2 separate regions of the Homo sapiens genome follow, and region 2 is linked to region 1. Evidence: promoter capture Hi-C in 16 types of primary human blood cells and fetal thymus (Javierre and others, 2016). All regions are on one chromosome and are shown on one strand. Each heading gives the region's core, a stretch centred on a gene start or on the middle of the fragment in contact. The rest is flanking DNA. Distances are from core to core; before and after follow the strand shown.

The links. Contacts are between HindIII fragments. The CHiCAGO score rates a contact against its expected background, and 5 or more counts as called.
Region 2: a contact is called between a fragment that was not itself captured here and the fragment with the promoter of TECPR1 in region 1, in 1 of 17 cell types (megakaryocytes). The highest score is 5.7, in megakaryocytes.

The regions. Positions count from the first base shown.
Region 1 is chr7:98,250,213-98,254,641 of GRCh38, forward strand. TECPR1 (tectonin beta-propeller repeat containing 1) reads right to left here and starts at 2,020. Exons shown (of 26, transcript NM_015395.3): 1 at 1,914-2,020; 2 at 1,182-1,336. It overlaps LOC124901706 (a long non-coding RNA gene), which reads left to right and starts at 2,147. Exons shown (of 2, transcript XR_007060448.1): 1 at 2,147-2,316; 2 at 2,672-4,429. RefSeq lists an enhancer at 1,667-2,410 and silencers at 1,727-2,116, 2,207-2,306. The HindIII fragment of the contact is 5,193 bases long and covers 1-2,450 here.
Region 2 is chr7:98,841,443-98,845,871 of GRCh38, forward strand. No RefSeq gene overlaps it. Among named protein-coding and RNA genes, the nearest start is that of TMEM130, 26 kb to the right of the region's middle. RefSeq lists an enhancer at 393-442. The HindIII fragment of the contact is 5,036 bases long and covers 39-4,429 here.

The sequences.
Region 1 (4,429 bases), core at 770-3,269:
CTGTATAATTCTTTCAACTTGGCTGTATGTGGGAAAATCCTCAATAAAATGCTAGGGGAAGACGAAGGTTTTTTTTTTTAATTGTCACTTTCTATAGTGTTAAATATAAGTTAGCCTTCAAAGATAGCTCAGAGGCCAGGTGCAGTAGCTCATGCCTGTAATCCCAGCCCTTTCCGGGGCTGAGGTGGGAGGATCGCTTGAGCCGAGGAGTTCAAAACCAGCCTAAGCAACACAGGGAGACCCCATCTCTGTAAAAATAAAAAGTTAAAAAAAAAATTAGCCAGGTGTGGTGGCACATGCCTGTGATCCTAGCTACTTGGGAGGCTGAGGCAGGAGGATCACTTGAGCCCAGGAGTTTGAGGCTACAGTGAGCTATGATTGTGCCACTGCACTCCAGCCTGGGCAGCAGAGCGAGACCCTGTCTCAAAAAGGAAAACAAACAACAACAACAACAACAACAAAACAAAGATAGCTCAGAATTCACTGGATAAGCAAGCAGTTTAGCTAGACTCAGTCTGCAGGTTGAGCTCAATGAAAGGAGATTTTGACTTTCCTTCAAATAAATGACTAAGCACTAATTTCCTCATAGACATCATTGAATCTTCTGGGCAGTTAATGGGAGAAGACTCTGCTACAGTGAAAGGGAGGGGTGGGGGGTTGCTGTATTTACAAACTCCCTTCAGAGTAGAGACCCAGGCACCTGTCGTCACTTCCTAGCTACAGTTGACATCCGGTAACCATCCTTGGTCAGCCACACTTTCTTTCTGCCTCTGCCAAGAGGCTCCCCCTAGCTCCTCATGGGCCACTTTCTGGCTGTGAGCTGATCAGGCAACTTACACAGGGTCACTGGGTCAGAGGACTCTTGAAAGGGGGGTTGGAACATGAAGCCCCATGATTCAGGGATCCTGGGACTTGTTTGTTTTGTAGGGTTAGAGGGATGGAGGAAAATCTTCCAAATCAGCAGCCTCGAATTCACCAAGAATTTCTACAAGATGAATTTGAGTTGAACCTTCAGTCTTTCCACGAAGAAGGTCTGCTCGCCACCCTCAAAGCCATCTGCCTTTCTGTCTCAGTTTATTCACAGATCCTTTCAGAGACCAAAAAAAGCACCCAAGAGAGGCGGGGACAGAGATGTGGTAGAGGAAAAGACACAGTACAAAGAACGCTCCGCAAGCACTTACTTCCTCTGAGCCTTAGGAGTCCTACCTAAAAGGTTTCTTGCTTGTTTTTCTATTACACTGTCACTCCCATCCGGTATGCAAACAGTCGGCAATGCCTACTACAGTAGCTCGCTGGCTGCCAGGTGCAGGGGCTGTTCAAAAGCGACATCAGGGTCCTAAAAGGTGGGAAAAAGCAGCAGAACTTGCATGGTAGTTGATTCTTTCCTGAAGAATAGGGTCCGCCCAGCCCCACCGGGCAGGAGGTGTCCTGAGTCAGCCTGGCGTTCAGCCCAGTGCTGTGCACTTGGGTGACAGGTGGGGCCCCTGCACTGCCACCAGTAGCATATGTCGGAGCTCTGGGCCCTGACCATCTGCCAAAGCTAATCTTACGACAAGCAGATTTGCTCCCATCAATACCCAGGGAGAGGGATAGGCAGGCCCCTTGCTGCGTGATTCTCGAAAACAACCAGGATCCCGCGATCCGCTTCTCCTATGGCTCCAGTCCAAAGGCTGGAATGGGGGCGTCACCTGCACCAGGCAACTTCGCTAGCCTGTGGGCGTTCCAGGGCAGGGGACGGGGGCGGCACCTTCCAGGTGTGCAGGCGAGATGACAAGTGCGGTCCCTCCTTCCTCCCTCCCCGCGAGCAAACAGCCTGGGGGTGGTGGGGAAGGCGGCGTGCCCAGCCCTTCATCGCCCCATTCTTTCCCACGGCCCTGGCCGCCGCTGCAGCTGGGGCGCCACTCTGCACTCACCTGGGCCCGCGCCGGGCGGGGCGAAGTCGCGGTGGTAGGTCCTCGGCGTCCGGGAGGAGCGGACCGGCCCTCCCGGGGACCGGGCAAGAGGGTGGGCCGGAAGCGGCATCAGGCCCCGTGCCCATTGGCCAGCCTCGCCAGGACGCTGCGACCTGGGACGTGCGATTGGCTGCGGTGCGCCGCGTCGGTGCTGGCTTCGAGGTCGCGCGCCCGCCCACTTCCGGGGTCGCGCCAGGTCAGGAGTCCAGAGTCGGCTGAAGCGAGTTGCCGCGTTCTCTCTGGCGGCGCGACACCGGCCCGTGGACCGCCCGGCCGCCCTCCAGGACCCGGTCTGCAGGAGCGGAGAGGGCGGTGTGGACACCGCCTGCAGGCGAGGAGAAGGGGTGGCGGAGAGGGTACCTGGGTGCGTGGCTGTGCGGCGTCAGGAGGAGCAGGGTGTGGGCGCCCGGCCTGGGGCGTGGAGAGGACGCAGGGAACAGGTGTCTTCCTGGTATCCATCGAACTGAAACGTAGCCCTTGAGCACACACTACACTTAAAGCTTTACTCTTTCGAGGAGGAGTCCTGGAAGCATATGTGATTTTGTGACTATAGCATGGTGTGGTGTCAGTAACAGGCCCTGGATTGCTCAAACTCTATTGTCAGTGACAAAACCCAGTGTAAGCTGGCCTAATATATTAATAGTAATATGCGAGTCCTCCCGGGGTGGCGGGCACTGACGTAAGTGCTTTACTTGGGTCTTCTCATTTCATCCTCCCAGCAACCCAAAGAGCTGGCGGCGTCATTCCCATTTTACAAATGCGAACACGGGCTCAGAGATGGAGCGACTCACGTTGTAAGCGATGGAACTGGGATTTGAAAACACTGTATCCCGCCTGGCAGAAAACTGGCAAGGTTAGGATGGAGAAAGGAGAAAAAAGAAAGATGTCGGCCAGGTGCGGCGGTTCATACCTGTAATCCCAGCACTTTGGGAGGCCAAGGCGGGCGGATCACTTGAGGTCAGGGGTTTGAGACCAGCCTGGCCAAGATGGTGAAACCCCGTCTCTAGTAAAAATGCAAAATTAGCCAGGGGTGGTGGCGCATGCCTGTAATCTCAGCTACTCGGGAGACTGAGGCAGGAAAATCGCTTGAACTGGGGAGGTGGAGGTTGCAGTGAGCTGAGATCGTGCCACTGTGCCACCGCACTACAGCCTGGGCGACAAGAGCAAAACTCCTTCTCAAAAAAGAAAAAAAAGGGCATCTGATGGAAGGCTAGATACTACCCGACATTGAGCTAAACCAATGTCACCTGGTTGGACCTAGGGACCTATTCCTGCTCCCCCTCTAGTTCTGTCTCATTTCTGGGGTTGCACACAGGCTTTTCCTGGGCCTTCATGTTTGGGGAAGCCCCACACAGGCCAGCTCCAGTGGAAGAAAACGCCCCCAGAAGCCTCTTGTTCACCCCGGATGGCTCTGTGGAGTCCTGTGTCTGACCCTGACTTTAGCTTGGGCCTGAGGGACTGGCATTTGTGGACTTGGTCTGGAGATGTGGGCAGAGCCCCCCTCAAGCATAAGGGCTCAGCCAGGCACAGGGGGTGGCTCCTCAGAGGAAGATCAGGGTGCTATTAGCAGAAGGACGATGAGTGGGCCGGGCGCAGTGGTTCACGCCTGTAATCCCAGCCCTTTGGGAGGCCGAGGCGGGTGGATCATGAGGTCAGGAGATGAGACCATCCTGGCTAACATGGTGAAACACCGTCTCTACTAAAAACACAAAAAATTAGCCGGGCGTGGTGGCGGGCGCCTGTAGTCCCAGCTACTCGGGAGGCTGAGGCAGGATAATGAGGTGAACCCAGGAGGCGGAGCTTGCAGTGAGCTGAGATTGTGCCACTACACTCCAGCCTGGGCAACAGAGCAAAACTCTGTCTCAAAAAAAAAAAAAAAAAAAAAAAAGGAGGATGAGTGGTCGCTAGACTGCTGGAGAAACAGTCTAGAGGTAGGGAGCCCTGGGTTCTGTCCTGCCTGTGACACTCTGTAGCCATTTATCTCCTCTTTAGCTTTAGTTTCCACATTAAAAGAGGCATTGAAAAAAAATGAAAAAGAGGCATTGAATTAGGAGCTTTCTGTGGCCCCTTGCAGTTTTCATGTGTGGTGACAAAGTTCAATATAGTTTTCCTGAATTCAGGGGCTTGGGGACCCATGTCCCCCTATCCCGAGTTCTTTTTTTTTTTTTTTTTTTTTGAGAGGGAGTCTCACTCTGTCACCCAGGCTGCAGTGCAGTGGTGAGATCTCAGCTCACTGCAACCTCCACCTCCCAGGTTCAAGCGATTCTCCTTTCTCAGCCTCCTGAGTAGCTGGGACTACAGGTGTGTGCCACCACGCCAGGCTAATTTTTTTATTTTTAGTAGAGACAGGATCTCACCATGTTGGCCAGGCTGGTCTTGAACTCCTGACCTCAGGTAATCCACCCATCTCAGCCTCCCAAAGTGCTGGGATTATAGGCGTGAGCCAGCATGCCCGGCCAAAAGTTTGCTTTCTTTTG
Region 2 (4,429 bases), core at 1,307-3,806, 590 kb after region 1:
TCCCTCTTTATCCACATGGTACAACATGAAAAAACAAAAGCTTGGACAGATTCAGTGGCTGGCCCAAGGTCACAGAGCCAGGCTGGAACACAGATCTCCATTTCCTCAACCCACAGTCAAACTATCTTGTGGCTGTAGCTGTTGACTCATGCTGACCTGTAGATTTCTCGGAAAAGCTATTGGGCAAGAAAAAGAAGAGGCAAAACAAAAGTGACCTCCTCTTCTGAAAAGATTTCTCAAGGGCCAGAGTCCCAGGAATGTCTTCTGTCCTGGAAGGGGCTGAAGGTTCTAGAAGTTGGTTGCCAGCTTGGCTGTTTCACCAATGTGAATGTGAGTATATGTGTGTGCGTACAGTGTGCCTGTGTGTTCATGCAGGTGTGTCGGCAGGTGCTGCAATGCCAGGACCCTGCCCATCCATGCCCCTCTGCCCGCCATGCCCCCCGGTGCACCTGGCAGAGGCTGGGAGCCTGCAGAAAGCATAGCCGGTCAGACACTGCCACCTGCTGGACATACTGGGCACAGCATGCAGATGGCTTGGGGCCCTGGCACTTCATCTCCTAGATCTTCTAAGGCCCCCAGAAAGTAGTGTCCTCCATCACCCCTCATTGCCTATGTGGGCCTCTCTAGAAAACACTTACAGGGTGTAATCTCAGCACTTTGGGAGGCCTGTAATCCCAGCACTTTGGGAGGCCAAGGCGGGCGGATCACCCTGAGCTCAGGAGTTCAAGACCAGCCTGGCTAACACAGTGAAACCCTGTCTCTACTAAAAATATAAAAATTAGCCGGGCATGGTGGCGGGTGCCTGTAATCCCAGCTACTTGGGAGGTTGAGGCAGGAGAATTTCTTGAACCCGGGAGGCAGAGGTTGTAGTGAGCTGAGATCGCGCCATTGCGCTCCAGCCTGGGTGACTGAGCAAGACTCCGTCTCAACAAATAAATAAATAAATATATATATATATATACACACACACACATACATACATACATATATATATATATAAAGGAAAACACCTACTGATGAAATTTTATATAAAGGAAAACACCTACTGATGAAATTTTTGGCACTATGAACCCCTTTAAGTCAAGTCAAGCCCTCTTCTCAGAATAATGTTTTCAAAAGCATAATATAAAATAGTGCTGGACACACTGGCTCACACCTATAATCCCAGCACTTCAGGAGGCTGAGGCAAGAGGATCACCTGAGGCCAGGAGTTCGAGACAAACCTGGGCAACACAGCAAGACCCCATCTTTACAAAAAAAATTTTTTTTAATTAGCCAGGTGTGGTGACTTATACCTGTGATCCTAGCACTTTGGGAGGCCAAGGCAGGAGGATCACTTGAGGCCAGGAGTTCAAGACCAGTCTGGGCAACACAGCAAGACCCCTATCTCTACAAAAACTTTCTTAAAAAATTAGCCACCTATAATCTCAGCACTTTGAGAGGCCAAGGCAGGAGGATTGCTTGAGGCCAAGAGTTTGAGACCAGCCTGGGCAACATAGCAAGACCCCGTCTCAACAGAAAATTTAAAAGTCAGCTGGGTGTGGCAATGGACACCTGTGGTACCAGCTACTTGGGAGGCTGAGGTGGGAGGATCGCTTGAGCCCAGGAGTTCGAGGCTGCAGTGAGCTGTGATCACACTACTGCACTCCAGCCTGGGGGACAGAGCAAGACCCTGTCTCTAAACAAATACATAAATAAAGATGTAATTTTTCCCATCCAAGTACCTCAATGCTCTCCATGGATCCCTTGGGGATTAGGGTAGCTCAGTTTAAGAGACTCTGACCCATTCCCTGCCTGATGACCCTGGAGCCTCCTCGGCCCGTTGGCCCACTACCACATGGGACCCAGCTTAGCTTGCTCCCTCAGCCCCTGCCACACTGTCTACAGCCCACCTGCTCTCCCAGCCTCCAGCCTCTGACCTTTCCTCCTCAACACAGAACAAGGCACCACTCTCAGAAGCCAGGCCAGTGGCTTTCTGCTCCAAGGATGGATAATTGCCCGATCTGATGTCCAAGAGGCCGCCATGCCAGAAGGGGCCCACACCGCAGTCCCTCTCTCCAGGATTCAGGGAGGGAGGCCCCTGCCTCCTGACACCTGGACATCACCACGTCTCACACCAGGGCTTCCGGGCCATTTGTCCTGACCTATGGGGTCTTCTGGACAGTCTGGACAGACATTGAGTTTGTTCCTTAGAGTCTTGTGTTCCCTCCCCTAATTCCAGTCATTGTGAGGTTACAACACAAGTGTGAGGAAGTAACCCTTTCTCCCTTCCTCACGCCATCCCTCTTTCCTTTCAACAATATTTAATGAACACCTGCTATGTGCTGGGTAGTATTCTGGGTGTTAGAAGTAGAAATAGTGAACAAAATAGGCAAAATCCTTTCTTTCTTCAAGTTTATATACCATGTAAGGCTCAGATTAAATAAATAAGTTAAGGCCAGCTGCAGTGGGTCATGCCTGTAATCCCAGCACTTTGGGAGGCCGAGGTAGGAGGATCCCTGGAGACCAAGGGTTCCAGACTAGCCTCAGCAACATAGCAAGACCCCATCTCTACGAAAAATTTTTGAAAATTAGCTGGGCATGGGGGTGGGCTCCTGCGGTCTCAGCTACTTGGGAGGCTGAGATGGGAGGATTGCTTGAGCCAGGGAGGCTGGGGCTGCAGTGAGCTATGATTACACCACTGCACTCCAGCCTGGGTGACAGAGTAAGACCCTGTCTCTATAAAAAAAAAAGTACAAATAAATTTTAAAATAAATAAATTAATAGTATGTTAGGCAAAGCGTGGTGGCTCATGCCTGTAATCCCAGCACTTTAGGAGGCCGAGGCGGGCAGATCACTTGAGACCAGCCTGGCCAACATGGCAAAACCCTGTCTCTACTAAAATTACAAAAAAATTAGCCAGGCCTGGTGGTGGGTGCCTGTAATTCCAGCCACTTGGGAGGCTGAGGCAGGAGAATCACTTGACTCTGAGAGGCAGAGGTTGCAGTGAGCCAAGATCGCACCACTGCACTCCAGCCTGGGCGACAGAGCAAGACTCCATCTCAAAAAAATAAATAAATAAATAAATAGTATGTTAGAAGGTGACATATGCCATGAGTATAAGGGCAGGTAGGAGAGGAGAGTGCCAAGTTGACCTCACAGATGAAGGTGATGTTTGAACAGCCGTGAAGGAGCAGAGAGGGAACCCCACACGTGTCCAGGAAACAGCATCCTGCCCGGCAAAGGGAACAACTCGGGAAAGACCCAGCCAGACAAGCAGCAGGGGCTGGGGGTGACAAGGTCACAGGCCAGGTTGGACAGGGATTTGGGAGGCCACCAGAAGGATTTGGGGTTTGCTCTGAGAAGGGAGACACTGAAGGGTTTGGGGCAGAGGAAGATGTGGTCTTGGAGCAGTTTTGTGGACAAACTTCTGGCTCAGTGAGGGGTGAGCAGGAGCTGCCAGGCATTATGAGAGCCCTGCCAGGGACCAGGGTGGTGGCAGCAGGGGAGGAGGGAGCAGCGGTCAGATTCTGGATCTCAGTTGAAGGATTTCTCACAGGATGGATATGAAATGTGAGAGACGGAGCTGCCGAAAATGACGTGGGGAAGTCTGTTTCCTGGGGCTGCCGAAACAAAGTACCACGAACTAGGTGGCTTAAAACAACAGCAACGGGACCAGGCGCGGTGGTTCACACCTGTAATCCCAGCACTTTGGGAGGCCGAGGCGGGTGGATCATGCGAGGTCAGGAGTTCAAGACCAGCCTTGCCAACATGGTGAAACCCCATCTCTACTAAAAATACAAAAATTAGCCGGGTGGGGTGGTGGGTGTCTGTAGTCTCAACTACTCAGGAGGCTGAGGCAGGAGAATCGCTTGAACCCGGGAGGCAGAGATTGTAGACAGCCGAGATCGTGCCACTGCACTCCAGCCTTGGAGCAAGACTCTGTCTCAACAAAACAAAACAAAAAACTCAGGGCTGGGTGCGGTGGCTCACGCCTGTAACCCCAACATTTTGGGAGGCCAAGGCAGGAGGATAACTTGAGCTCAGGAGTTTGAGACCAGCCTGGGCAAGATAGTGGAGCCTCATCTCTACAAAAAATAAGCAGAAAATTAGCCATGGATGGTGGCATGCACCTATAGTCCCAGCTACTCAGGAGGCTGAGGTGGGAGAATCACTTGAGCCCAGGAGGTCGAGGCTGCAGTGAGCTATGATCGTGCCACTGCACTCCAGCCTGGATGACAGAGAGACTCTGTCTAAAAGAAATAATAAGTAAATAAAAATAAATAAGGCCAGGTGTGGTGGCTCACACCTGTAATCCCAGCACTTTGGGAGGCCGAGGAGGGCAGATCACAAGGTCAGGAGATCAAGACCATCCTGGCCAAAGATGGTGAAACCCCATCTCTACTAAACATACAAAAATTAGCCGGGCATGGTGGCACGTGCTTGTAAT